Linked DNA regions of Homo sapiens: all the other regions are linked to region 2. Evidence: promoter capture Hi-C in 16 types of primary human blood cells and fetal thymus (Javierre and others, 2016). All regions are on one chromosome and are shown on one strand. The core of a region is centred on a gene start or on the middle of the fragment in contact, and the rest is flanking DNA. Distances in the headings are between cores, read along the strand shown. Region 1 has its middle 91 kb from the start of DUSP26. Region 2 holds the start of KCNU1 (potassium calcium-activated channel subfamily U member 1). Region 3 has its middle 75 kb from the start of DUSP26.

The links. Contacts are between HindIII fragments. The CHiCAGO score rates a contact against its expected background, and 5 or more counts as called.
Region 1: a fragment that was not itself captured here is called in contact with the fragment with the promoter of KCNU1 in region 2 in 1 of 17 cell types (M2 macrophages); the score reaches 5.1 in M2 macrophages.
Region 3: a fragment that was not itself captured here is called in contact with the fragment with the promoter of KCNU1 in region 2 in 2 of 17 cell types (M0 macrophages and M2 macrophages); the score reaches 12.9 in M0 macrophages.

What each region holds. Positions count from the first base shown.
Region 1 is chr8:33,688,534-33,692,946 of GRCh38, forward strand. No RefSeq gene overlaps it. Among named protein-coding and RNA genes, the nearest start is that of DUSP26, 91 kb to the left of the region's middle. The HindIII fragment of the contact is 362 bases long and covers 1,773-2,134 here.
Region 2 is chr8:36,781,264-36,786,054 of GRCh38, forward strand. It overlaps KCNU1 (potassium calcium-activated channel subfamily U member 1), which reads left to right and starts at 3,111. Exons shown (of 27, transcript NM_001031836.3): 1 at 3,111-3,342. The coding sequence starts at 3,148. The HindIII fragment of the contact is 1,918 bases long and covers 1,504-3,421 here.
Region 3 is chr8:33,672,727-33,677,505 of GRCh38, forward strand. No RefSeq gene overlaps it. Among named protein-coding and RNA genes, the nearest start is that of DUSP26, 75 kb to the left of the region's middle. The HindIII fragment of the contact is 3,391 bases long and covers 1-3,266 here.

The DNA of each region.
Region 1 (4,413 bases), core at 704-3,203, 3.1 Mb before region 2:
CAATGAAGTAGCATCTGAATGGGATGGCCAGGGAAAGGGAAGTGGGCGGGGGGCAGGGGCGAGCATTTGTCAAGGATCAAACACAGTGGAAATTGTAAAGGAAAGCTATTAAATACTTTGCAAAAGGAAAGAACCATTTATTATGGGAACTAAAAGGAAAACTTGGTCTGAAAGTTAGATGGGGCCTAGGTAGTCTTTCAGCACCTAAAAAACATATTTTCTTAGAGACAGGGTCTTACTCTGTCACCCAGGTTGGAGTGCAATGGTGGGCTCATAGCTCACTGCAGCCTCAACTCCTGAGCTCAAGTGATCCTCTTGTCTCATCCTCCTGAGTAGTTGGGACTATAGGCATGCATCACCATGCTTGGCTAATTTTTAAATTATTTTTTTTTGAGACATGGTCTTGTTGTGTTGCCCAGGTTGGTCTTGAACTCCTGACCTCAAGCCGTCCTCCCACTTCATCCTCCTAAAGTGCTGGGATTACAGGTGTGAGACACCTCGCCCTGCCATAAAGAACCTTTTATAAGAAAATAACATAAAATACTCAGCTTCCCTACTTGGGTCTTGGATGTACAGTTTACAGGCAGGTTTCTGTGCTATTCAGATGCAAGATACACAGGCACCTCCAGGATGGCTTTCTCAGTTTGCTCAGGTTGGGCCACTGCTAGTGGATACTGTGTTTTGTGTGAATTAGAAAAGGGTACCCCCACAGGGCAGGCAGTATACCCCTTAGCAGTGCAGCTTGGGGAGCAGATCATACCATTGTGAAAAAGGCACTCCTTCCTCCAGGCAGCTGTCCCTGGGCCAGGAACATGACAGGTTGCATGTGCCTTGTGCTGGAGGTCAGCCCCCACTGCTCCTAGCCAGGAACCCTTGTGCACAGACAGGCAGCACAACCATACACAGTCCTTCTGACACGGGAGTGGGGCAGGGAAGTGTTGGGTACAGAAGGTCTGGGTCTTTGGTGGGGGGTCCACCCTCAAGCCTGTGCCTGTGGACCTACATGAGAACAGGAACTCCTGTTTTCAAACCCAAATGTTGCATTTTCTAAGACCACTGTGCCCCCTCCCCCGCCCACTGAAGCCCCCATCTTGTGCCCATATAAACATGAGCCCTTAGTGGGCACAGACACAAGCAGGTGAATATTGGAACCAGCAGACCGGTGATGACAGAACAACGTGACAGAGAAAGAGAGAAGAAAAAGGAAGTCTGGACATCGAGGAGGGTTCAGCCGGGGGGCAGTCGGGGAAGAGTCCGGCCGCTGGGCAGCCCCACTCCAGGGGAAGATCACCTTCCCACTCCATCCCCGCTTCCAGCTCCCCATCCATCTTGCTGAGAGCCACCTCTACCACTCAACAAAACCTTGCATTCATCCTGTGAGCCAATTCTTCTGGTACACTGGGAAAGAGCTCGGGATACAGAAAGCTGTCACATTGGCCCTCTTCCCTTGCGATAAGGCAGAGGGTCTATTGAGCTGATTAACACAAGCCTTCTGCAGCTGGCAAAGCTGAAAGAGCACTCTGTAACATATGCCCACTTGGGCTTGGGGAGTTGCAGACACCCACCCCTAGATGCTGCCGTGGGGCTGGAGCCCCAGAGCAACCCCAGGGCCCCTGCACCTGCCCGTCTGCATGCTCCCACTAGAGGCTTGAGCAGTGGGGCAACTGAAGGGGCAAGCCACATCCCTGTTGCACATCCTGCAAGGGGGATAAGGGAACTCTCCCGTTTCACCTCCACTTTGGGAATGGGGGCCCTCATGCTGGCAGAATCAAAGCTTTGGCTGAAGAGAGCAGCTATGTAGTTACAGGGTTAAGTTTTCTCTCTCTGTGAGAGTGGCCTTCCATCTGCAGAGTGAAATTGAGATGTCCCTCTGATTCTGTTTCCCCTGTTTATAGGCTACAGCTTCTGATGTATGAGAGGGGTGCTAATACATATGGGTCCACATGTTGATAGACTGGAGAGACAGCATGAGGGTATAAAACCAACCTGCCATTCCTAGTTTCTCTCCTTGATCTAGTTATGAGTTTAGCAGCCGAAATAGTTTATGGCTCACTCCCATCTAGAGAAGCAGTTGGGGGAAGACCTGCTCTGAGAAATAATGCCAGCATCTGAGGAAATCAAAATGAACATTGCAAGCTTTCGGAGTCAGCACCTTGTCTTTCAGAATGGGAAGGGCAAGGGCCTTGGAAGCTGCAGCCTTTGAATCAGAGCCCAAGGCCAAACATGATGTGATGGCTTTTCCTGTGCCCTCAGTGTCCCCAGGAGCCCAGAGTCATAAATCTATAGAAGGCAGCAGCTCTTTACCGTGAAGGGGTCTTGGAGCATCCTCCAGTTGTTCTGTGCAAACTTCTGTCATTGCTAGAAGCAAATGCTACCCTCTAGGCCCCCAGGGTTTAAAGGTACTGGGCCTTTGATCACCTTGGAAGTCAGTAATGACAGAGATTGTGGGCAAGTATTCAGCGAGAAATTAGCTGATAAACATTTAAAAAGGGAATAGAATGCTTATTTTCTTGTCCTCATTTGTTATCGCAAAAATAATAAAAAAAATCAAATGAAATTAAAAGAAAAATGTGACCCCTTTGTTTCACTTTTGCATATTGACTTTCAGTTCTTGTTTTTGTATCTGTATATTTACACAGTTATAAATCAGAGTTGTGATTTATAATATATTAGGGGAAGGAAGCAGAATGCTCAATGCCTTCCCATATTTCTTCTCCACATCTTCCTGTTTCTGAATTTTAGTGGCTACATGACACTCCTATACTAGAATAAGAATATAGTTTCAAAATCTCGCTGTTTAACTCCTGTTCCTTATCTGCTCTTTCTTAACTTCATTCAGGCTGGGACAGGAGGGAGTGAAGCCTATCCTGTTTAGAGTTTAGAGAATATCCTGGGCTGAACAATATGGATACAATGTCTAAAGGTCTTTCCTGCCATCATTTTACTTTATATCACTTGTCAGTGAATCCTGCTATAGTTTATAAATCATTTTCAGACATGTTATCTCATCACCACAACTGTATGGTATATCTTTTCCCACCTTTATAGATGAGGAAAAAAGAGCCACGTATCAGTAAGTGGCAGCTCCAGAACTTAAAGTCAGACTTCTGACTCATCATCTAGCGAACTTCTATTCACCCTTCAGAGCCCAGTTCGAAAGTCATGACTTCTAAGTAACTTTTACTATCGGTTCCCTCCTGATATGGTTTGGATCTGTGTCCCCACCAAATCTCCTGTGGAATTGTAATCCCCAATGTTGGAGATGAGGCCTGGTGGGAAGTGATTGGATTATGGGGGTGGATTTGTCCTGAATGGCTTAGCACCATCCCTCTTGCTACTGTCCTCGTGATAATGAGTGAGTGTTCTTGAAATCTGGTTGTTTAAAAGTGTCTGGCACTTCCCCGCTCTCTCTCTTCCTCGTGGTTCTGTCTGTGTGGGGGCTCCCCTTTGCCTTCTGCCATGATTATAGGTTTCCTGAGGCCTTCTCAGAAGCCAAGCAGATGCCAGTACCATGCTTCCTGTACAGGCTGCAGAACCGTTAGTCAATTAAACCTCCTTTCCTAGAGTGAGGTATTTCTGTCAGCGTGAGAATCCCATCCTCATTGAATATAAATTGTTCTTGGTTGTTGTTTTAAAGTTGTGGTTTTAAAATATGTGGTACACACATAACAAAGTTTACTATCTTAACCATTTTTAAATGTACAGTTCAGTGACATTAGGTATATTCATATTGCTGTGCAGCCATAACCACCATTCATTTCTGGAGCTTCTTCATCATCCCAAAAAGAAACTCTGTACCCACAAACAATAACTTCCCATTCCTCTCTCCCGACAGTCCCTGGATAACTCCATTCTACTTTCTGTCTCTACAAATTTGCTTAATCTAGGTACCTCATATAAGTGGAATCACACAAGATTTGTCCTTTTGTATCTGGCTTATTTCAAGTTTTATTCATTTTGTAGCATGTATCAGAATGTCTTTCCTTTTTAAGGCTGAATAATTTTCTAGTGTGTGTATATGTATATTTTGTTTATCCATTCATCTGTTGATGGAGACTTGGGTTGTTTCCATCTTTTGACAACTGTGGATAATGCTGCTATGAGTATTGGTGACATGGGAAAAGTTCCCTTGTCCCCCTCACAGGGTGAGCCACAGGGGTGTGGCTTGCTTCTTCAGTGCTCCACTGCTCAGACCTCTAGGGCAGCATATAGACAGGCAGGCTGTGGGGCTCCGACCTCACGGCAGTGTCTGGGGTGAATGTTCACAGCTGCAGCCCCAGTGGGCGTGTGCTACAAGGTGCTCTTTTAGTTTAGCTATCCGTAGGCAGCTTGTGTTAGCTCAGTTAGACTCCTGCCTTATCACAAGGACAGAGGGCTTTCTGAATCCTGGGGTTCTTGCCTTGGTGTACCGGA
Region 2 (4,791 bases), core at 1,861-4,360:
GGCAGAGGGAACAGAGGCATTGTGCTATAAGGGCCTGGACCAGGAAAAGGTTTGCATGTCCTCATAGCTAAGAGGAGGCAGTATGATTGGAGCGCAGCATAGATGATGTGTCGTGGGATGGGAGGTGACCAGTCTCTGTGGTTTGCCAGGACTAGGCGGTTTCTCCAGTCACTGGACTTTCAGTTTTGAACCTGGGACAGTTCTGAACAGGGACTGTTCGTCACTGTAGGTTCAAGATGGGTTTGAAGAGACTGATTTTGAAACCACCTGCACATTTTTCTACTCATTTGCAGACAGTAATATTATTATCGTGATAACAGCATATTAGAGGGACAAACTACCTGCCTGTTCGAATTGAATGGAATCCTTTTTGTGTTCATAAAGCAATATCTGCAAAAAGGGAAGAGGTGCCCAGGATGCATCATAATACAGCAGAATCGAAATACTTTGAAAATAGTGTTAGCCCAAGCAGCGCCATCCTGTAAACCCCTGCCATTTTGCACACCCTGGTTAGGGTGGAAAATTCCCCTGGAGGGGCTCGGGCCATGAGAAACATCCTGGCAGGTCCCAGGCCTAACCGTCTGACTGCAGGAAATTCTTCCTTTATCACATCCTGCCCTGCAGCGACCCATACTGCCCCACCTCTCCTGTCGGGACCTACAACTGCTCCAGTCTGTAAGCGGGGCTTGGGCTCCAGCGCTGTCTGGTGTTCCCCTTCTGCAAGTCTTTGTCCAATAAACCTGTGTTGCTGTTGAGCGACCTCCCCTTGTCTCTGTTTCTTTTCTCCATCCTAACAAACAGTAAATAGTAAAAGGGAAGAAAATAAGAAAATTAAAGTGATAATGATAGATAAAAGGGAGAATACTAAGTAAAGGATGTGGATGAATTTTGGCTTGGAAAGTCTGATCTTGTCCACATAGCTGTAAGTGTGTGTGTGTGTGTGTGTGCGCGCGTGTGTGTGTGTGTGCGTGCGCACACACACATATGTGAAAGAGATAAACAAGTGATTTCTCCCTCCCTCCTTCCCTTCCTTCCTTCCTCCCTCCCTTCCCTCATTCCTTCCTCCCTCCCTCCCTCCGTTCATTCCTTCCTTCCTTCCTTCCTCCCTCCCTACCTCCCTCCCTACCTCCCTCCCTGCCTCCCTCCTTCCTTCTTTCTCTCCCTCCTTTCCTTTACTTCTTCCTCCTCCTGTCTTTATAATTAATGCCATTCAAAAAAGGAACTGAAATGGCTAATGGCATCTTATATTGAGTTTTATGCTTTTCAAAATATGTTCACACTACCTTCTTGAATCCCCACAATAATTCTATCAAGTAGGTATTATCTTCCACATAAAATCAAAAGACTACGAACATTAAAATGACTTGTTAGAAATCACACAGTAACTTAATAGAAGGACTGGGCTGGAACGCAGGGCTCCTAACTCCTAGACCAGTGTTCTTTTAAACATCGCCCTTTGTTATTAGCTAGCTCAATGACAGGATTTTGTAGAAATGATAGGTAAGCTTAAAAGCAGGAAATGTAACTGTGGCAGCAGTCCTAGGAAATGCTACAGTTATCTTCTGAAACAGCCTGCCAAACAGTGTGGAGTCATGGCGGGCTCCCAAGGACAGCGTGATGATTCCTCTTGGGCCTCTTCACCTGGTGTCAGGTTATCTTGGTAATAACTGGGGTGAACTAGGCCCTCCACTGGGCTCTGACATTTTGCCTGCCACTTGTGCACACTGAAAGGCATGACATTTCTTACACCTTTGAAAACATCAGGGAAAATCAAAGAAATTTCTCTCATTCTGAACTTTACCTCTGCTGGGCCAAAAGGTTTGCTGCCAGGGCAGTAATAAAAGCAAGAAAGGGGAGAGTTCCATAAAGAAGAGATAAGTGGAATGGATTTATGGGCTGAAATAACAATCAACCAATGACCACACTAGTTAAATTGTCTTCTTCAATACCTGCACTCTATACTATGCCTTTCTTATGTAAAGAATAAACAAAACCTTTTTTTTTCTGTTTCAAGATAATCTTGATTTTCATTGTGTGTAATTAAGGAGTACAACGTGATATTCTTTGGATTGATGCACAGCAGATACACATATTTTCAAGTCACGTGATAATTTAATACATTCACATAATTTGTGTACTTGGGATATCAATCAACTTACATATTTGTATTTTCTTTGTGCTAGAAACATTCAAATTTTTCTCTTCTAGCTATTTTTAAATGTACAATAGATTATCATAAGCTATAGTCACTTCACTGATCTATAGAACATTAGATGTTATTTCTTCTATCAAACCAAATATTTGTACCCATTAATCAACTTCTCTTTATCCAACTTCTTTCCTCAGCCACCCTTCCCGGCATCTCGTAACCATGAATCTACTCTCTATCTTTATGAGATCCACTGTTTTAGCTTCCGCATACAAGTACAAACGCAAAATGCTCTTTTGATAAACTTATGCATAGTGAAGCAGTGACTACAGTCAAGCAAATTCATATATCTATCATCTCACAGAGTTAATCATCTTTTGTGTGCGTGTAACAAGAGCCCTTAAAATCTACTCTTTTAGCAAAAATCCTGAATACAAATAATTTTATTAATTATGTTCTTTGTTCTGCACACTAGATCTTCTAGACTTATTCATTCTGCATATCTGCTCCTTTGTATAAAGGATAAACAAAAACTTTAAAGTACTTCTCTCTTCTGTCCTTCCAAGCCTACTAAGCACGTGGCATCCTCCCAGATAGAGAACCAACTCATTCACACACATAGTTGGCTGTTGTTTCACTCCGAAAGAGTTGATTTGAAATTATTTGACTGCATTAACTGAACTGATAACCAGCTGATCATTGCTACAGATAATGGGATTTCTTCAAGGCATAGAGAAAGTCGTAACAATCCGATCTAGAATTATGATTTTTTTGACTATTCATATTGTAGGCCCCAGCCATCTCCAGTTGTGTATTCATTCACAACCCATGAGCTGGCACCGGGGGATTGGCAGACCCTTGTTCCTGGAACTTCTCACTGGTTATCACGCCTAATGTTGGAACACTGTGGTACAGTGAACTCTGATTCCTGGAATTGTTACCAGGCGACCACGGCGTCATCAAATGACCTGGCAATTCCGTCTACTGATGTCTCGAACATGTTTCAGACTAAGCTACGAAATGAAACTTGGGAAGACTTGCCAAAAATGTCCTGCACAACTGAGATCCAAGCAGCATTCATTCTCTCTTCCTTTGTGACCTTCTTCAGTGGACTCATCATCCTGTTGATCTTCAGGCTGATCTGGAGATCTGTTAAAAAATGGCAAATCATCAAGGGAACAGGAATTATCTTGGTCAGTTTCCTTGTTAGGGATCCCTCTGTGTGAAGTCAGAGATGAGTTTGGGGTAGTTTTGTGTTTAGTAAAAGATCTAAGCTTCATTCAGTTTTTCAAGCTAACAGAGTCAGCTTCTATAGCCTGGTGCCTCAGAAAGGGTGGTAAGCCAGACCTCAGGCCACATTCTGAGGCCTGAAGAGACAGGGCCAAGCCTCTTCTCTCTCCCATCACTGGAAAAAGCAATGTCTTGTATGGATAATGATTAATGTTAGCTCTGGAAACAGAGGTCACTGTTCTGAAAAAAAGTTCATAAACATTATGTCCATGCCTCTATCTCGAATTTTAACAAGACAATTGTGCTAGGTCATAGAAAGGAGGTGAAAGGGAACAAGACATCAACATCAACCTTGCTTTCATAAATTGTTCATGCATAATGCATATGTACTGACGTGTACATTGCCTTTTGTATACCATATGAAGACAACACATTGAGTTGCACATACACAGAGAAGCCCATGCATACATGCCTGTGCCATCCAGGCATAGATGCAAGGACATTTCTTATACCCAAACAAGCTTAGCAGGAGTTGATGTTGTTGAATAACAGCTGGCAAATGATGATGATGAGAATAAATGATGTATTATACAGATAAGGCATTGCTTAAGAGCTTGAAATAAAGCTCTCAAATGCTGTGTAATGGATGTTCTATTACCAGAGGTCAAAGGTGAAGAGTTTTACTATACCCTGTGTAGTTTGTTTCCAATTTTGCTTCCCAAACTTTCTTTCTCTGATAGATTATAGCAATTTCCATAACACAACACATTTCACCTGTGCATCATAATATTGAAAATTTGCTTAAAACATTTCTTTTAGTGCTAAAACCTACATAAAATATAATTCATAAATTGATAAGTTTTTAAAGTTATTGGTAATATGGAATTTTGTTTTCCATATTTGAAAATTATCCAATACTGAAGCTTATAGATTTTGTTCCTAAACAAGTTTATTCTATTGATTATTTCTACATTATGGATTTTAAGCTGTGGCACAATAATTGGAGAAAGAATTCTGGGATACTGACATATGGGTAAATAGCTATGATGGATCTGCCTCCTTGTTTCTACCTTGTTTTGTTGTTGTTAATGCACAACTGAATTTGTAGGATTTTTAAATCTTCTTAGTCTTCTGCTCCAGGCAATGTTCTTCTTCTCCATTATGTTCATTTTGTGTGATTACAAAAATGTGACAGTACATTTGTCAATTTCCTATATTTTTCATTTCTTACTTTGGGTGTAATTTATGTCTACACTTCGATCCAGGTATACCCTTTAATTACAAATATTTAGCAAATGTTACAAAATGTTAAGAAGTGAGCCTGAGCAACCAGAATGCTGTACCATTCTGCTTTTGAATCTTGAGGAAAGAGTTTGATCAAGTTGAGTTACTTTTCAATGATTTGTTTTATT
Region 3 (4,779 bases), core at 321-2,820, 3.1 Mb before region 2:
GGTGGAAACAGAATTTCTCCTAAGTAAAATAATGCTATTCAAAGCCATAGTTAGACAACCACCCCTGAGGTTTCTGGACTGAATGCTTTATTCTAATAATTACCATAATCATATGAAGCATTTTATTTTATTTCACTTTATTTTGAGATGGAGTTTTACTTACTCTGCTGCCCAGGCTGGAGTGCAGTGATGCAATCTCTGCTCATTGCAACCTCTGCCCGCCAGGTTCAACCAATTCTCCTGCCTCAGCCTCCTGTGTACCTGGGATTACAGGTGCGCACCACCATGCCTGGCTAATTTTTATATTTTTTGTGGAGACAGGGTTTCATCATGTTGGCCAGGCTGGTCTTGAACTCCTGACCTCAAGTTATTTGCCCGCCTCGGCCTCCCAAAGTGCTGGGATTACAGGTGCGAGCCACAGTGTTCAGGCTGCAGCATTTTAATAATAGGTGCAATGATGTAGAATAGACTATTTTGTGACGTATTGTCTCATTTTATATATATTAGTGCTTTTTAAAAATTGTATTTTATTGTGGTAAGAGCGCTCAACATGAGATCCGATCTCTTTGCAACTTTTTAAGTGTACAATGCAGTATCGTTAACTGTAGGTTACAATACTATTATAGGTTATAACCTACACGTTACAGGCTATAATGTTGCACAGCAGATCTCCAGAACTTCATCTTGCTTAACTGAAACTGTATGCTGTTGATTAGCAGTACCCCATTTCCCTCTCCCCAGACCTGGCAACCACCATTCCACTCTTTGATTCTATGTGTTCGATTATTTGAGATACTCCCTATTGGTGGCATCATGCAGTATTTGTTCTTCTGTGATGAGACCTGTTTCACTTAGCATAATATCTTCAAGGTTTATCTTAGGTTAATGTTGTTGCATATTGCAGAACTTTGTTTTTTTAAGGTAGAATAATATTCCATTGTATGCATATACCACATTTTCTTTATCCATTCATCTACCGATAGATGTTTAGATTGTTTTCACATCTTGGCTATTGTGAACAGCGCTGTAATGAATATGAGAGTGCTAATACCTCTTTGAGGTCTTGATTTCAATGCTTTTGGATTTATGCCAGAGGCGGGATTGCTGGATTATATAGTAGTTCTACTTTTTTTTTTTTTTTTTTTTTTTTTGAGACAGGGTCTCTGTCACCCAGGCTGGAGTGCAGTGGCACTATCTCAGCAACCTGAAACCTCTGCCTCCCAGGGTCAAGCAATTCTCCTCTCTCAGCATCCTGAGTAGCTAGGATGACAGGTGCATGCCATCAGGCCTGACTAATTTTTTTTTTTTTTTTTTGAGATGTAGTCTCACTCTGTCACCCTGGCTGGAGTGCAGTGGCGCGATCTGGGCTCATTGCAACCTCCGTCTCCCAGGTTCAAGTCATTCTCCCGCCTCAGCCTCCCAAGTAGCTGGAATTACAGGCATCTGCCACCATGCCCGGTTAATATTTTTGTATTTTTAGTAGAGACAGGGTTTCACCATGTTGGCCAGGCTGGTCTCAAACTCCTCATCTTAAGTGATCCACCTGCCTCGGCCTCCCAAAGTGCTGGGATTACAGGTGTGAGAGACCACACCTGGCCACCTGCTACTTTTTTTAAACAAAAAGGATTTATTTAAAATAAAGCCTAAGAAAAGGTGTGTTGATTTTTGGGTAACAAGTAATGCCAATGCACTTATGTACAAATGAAGTAACAAAGTTGGCAAGGTCCCTTGCACTGCACTTGCTTATCTAACTATGTGCTTGCTTATAAATTACAGGGGCTAATCTTGAAATAAATCAGGCATAGAGACCCAGCTGCAGAATCCTCCCCATGTAGAGATTACCTCAAGGCAGTTAGTCTGCAACACAGCCATTGTCACCTTGAGATGGCACCAGCCCACGCTCCAGGTGGACAATAACTGAAGATGGCAGTCAGAACAAGACATACAGACCCTGCACCACTCCCGCATGCTTCCCATGCCAACTTCACTTTTTGAACACACTCACTTGCCTAAAGTTTTGAGATGGTTCCTTTGGGACTTGAGCCCAACCATCTCCTAGCTGCTAGCCTTTGAATACAGTTGCTTTCTTTTCAAAGCATCTTGCTTCTTTAATTTTGGTTTTCCAGTGGCAAGCAGCTGGACCTGAGTTTGGTTACGTTGGCAAGTAGAGTCTAAAATTCCAAAAAAGTTTATTTTTATTATTACTAATGTTCAGATAAAGTATATTCTCAATGCTCAATGAATACAATTGGCCCTTGAACAATGTGGTGATTATGGGCACCCCATGCAGTTGAAAATTTGTGTATAACTTTTGTCTCCCCCAAAACTTTACTAATAGCCTACTGTTGACTGGAAACCTTACCAATGACATAAATAGTCGATTATACGTATTTTGTGTTATATGCAGTATGTACTGTGTTCTTACAATAAGGTAAACTAGTGAAAAGAAAATGTTATTAAGAAAATCACACAGAAGAGAAAATACGTTTACTATTCATTAAGTGGAAGTGGATCATCATAAAGGTCTTCATCTTCATTGTCTTCACATTGAGGAGGCAGAGGAAGAGGAGGAAGAGAAAGATTTGATTGGTTTTGCTGTCTCAGGTGTGGCAGAGGCAAAGGAAAACTCACCTGAAATTCAAACCCATATTATTCAAGGATCAACTGTACTTCTTAATTTACCCAGTCTTTTGTGATGAGTGACAGTTTTTTATTAGTTTGAGGGTTAAAGAGAATGTTACCAAAGTAATAATATAGGCCATGATAAAAACAAAATATAATAAAAACAAAAATTAAAAAAAGAAAATAATTTAAATTTTACTTTAGAGATACAACTTTTAGAATACAAAATATTTGTTTAAAAAAGCCTAAAAAAAGGCTTGATGATTTTTGAGTAACAAGGAATGCTGATTCACTTATGTACAAATGAAGTAACAAATTTGATAAGATTATAGAAATTGAGTTAATTGTCACAAGGTGGGTGGTTAAAATAAGACTTCCATGACAAAAATAGTTTACACTCTTAGTGAACTAACAATTTGCTATAGCACACATTTTAACAAATGTAATTTCCTATAACAAACATTCATAGTATCAGAATTATAAATCAGCAATCATTGGCACTATTAAAGCAAATCAATATTACAGGAAAGCTCTTTGCCATTCTTGGTAAACATTCTTAGAAACAACTTTATGCTGACAAGATACAGATAAGTCTCGTTTAATGTAAATTTTATGGTAGGTAAGTTGTACGTAAATATTCACTAAGCTTTTTCTCAACTCTAACAAGATGATCATCTAGTTGAATACTTTGTCTTCTCAGAGCTCCTGTTCAACAGTCTTTGAGTCTTCCAATTCTTCTCAAGGGTTCCTCACTCAGCTGCTAATTAGGTTTTATAGCTTTTGGCTTCAGTTACATTTTCTTTCTGTTTTTTTTTTTTTTTTTTTTTTTTTTTAACACAGTTTTACTCTGTCATCCAGGCTGGAGTGCAGTGCCATGGTCTTGGCTCCCTGCAACCTCCACCTCTTGGGTTCAAGTGATTCTCGTGCCTCAGCTTCCTGAGTAGCTGGGATTACAGGTGTGTGCCACTATGCCAGGCTAATTGTTTTTTTTTTTTTTTTTTGTATTATTAGTAGAGACAGGGTTTCGCCATGTTGGTCAGGCTGGTCTCGAACTTCCTGACCTCAAGTGATCCACACGCTTTGGCCTCTCAAAGTGCTGGGATTACAGGAGTGTGCCACTGCACCCAGCCAAGTTATATTTTCTAGTCAAGGCTGAATTTTAAAAGATGAGGCACTCCTGAAGGAGAAATGTTATCAGTGGGCTGTGATTCCTCTGGTGGGCCCATGATTCAGGCTCTCACCACCACTGTGACCTGTGATTCTGGAATTTTACATCTCAGCCTGATGGGGACTGGGGAAATAGCTTACCACACTCAGTTTAAATGCTTTAAGATCAAGGATTCCCATCCTTTTTTGGGGGGCTCCCCGCATGAAATGCAGTTGTATAATAAATGCATGTGCATTGAAATTGATTCTGCTGCTCTCATCAAATCCAGGAGCAAAACCAAAGAGAATGTAATAGCAAGTAAATAATGTTACAGGTTACGACCCAGGTCTATACCTTGGGCTTTACATTTTTCTTGTTAATACTGTTGTTGTCTGAAGTGTTTCTGCCCAGAGTGATGCTTTCTTCTGGGCTTCATGGTCAAAGCTCAGAGCCCATGATTTTATTTTAACCCCATAACCAACCTTACATGAATCCTATCCTTATCTATTCCAAGTTGGTGAGCAAAAGGTTACTCACCAGAAGAAAATATTAAGTGCTAATATGCCAGTAACATCAACCTCAGTTTAGGAGAGCAAATTCTGTTTTTAAAATTTATTATTATTATTTTTTGAGATAGAATCTCTCTCTCGGCTCACTGCAACCTCTGCTTCCTGGGTTCAAGCGATTCTCGTGCCTCACCTCCCAGAGAGCTGGGACTAGAAGTGTGTACCACCATGCCCGGCTAATTTTTGTATTTTTAGTAGATATGGATTTTCATCATGTTGGCCAGGCTGGTTTGAACTCCTGGCCTTATGTGATCCACCCACCTTGGCCTCCTGAGGTGGATCACATTCTCTTTACTCCTCAACACTGAAGCGTTGGGACTGCAGGCGTAAACCACTGTGCTGGCAACATTTTATTATTATTATTTTTTATAGAGACATGGTCTTCCTATGTTGCCCAGGCTGGTCTCCAACTCCTGCACTTAAGCGATCCTCCTATCTTGGCCT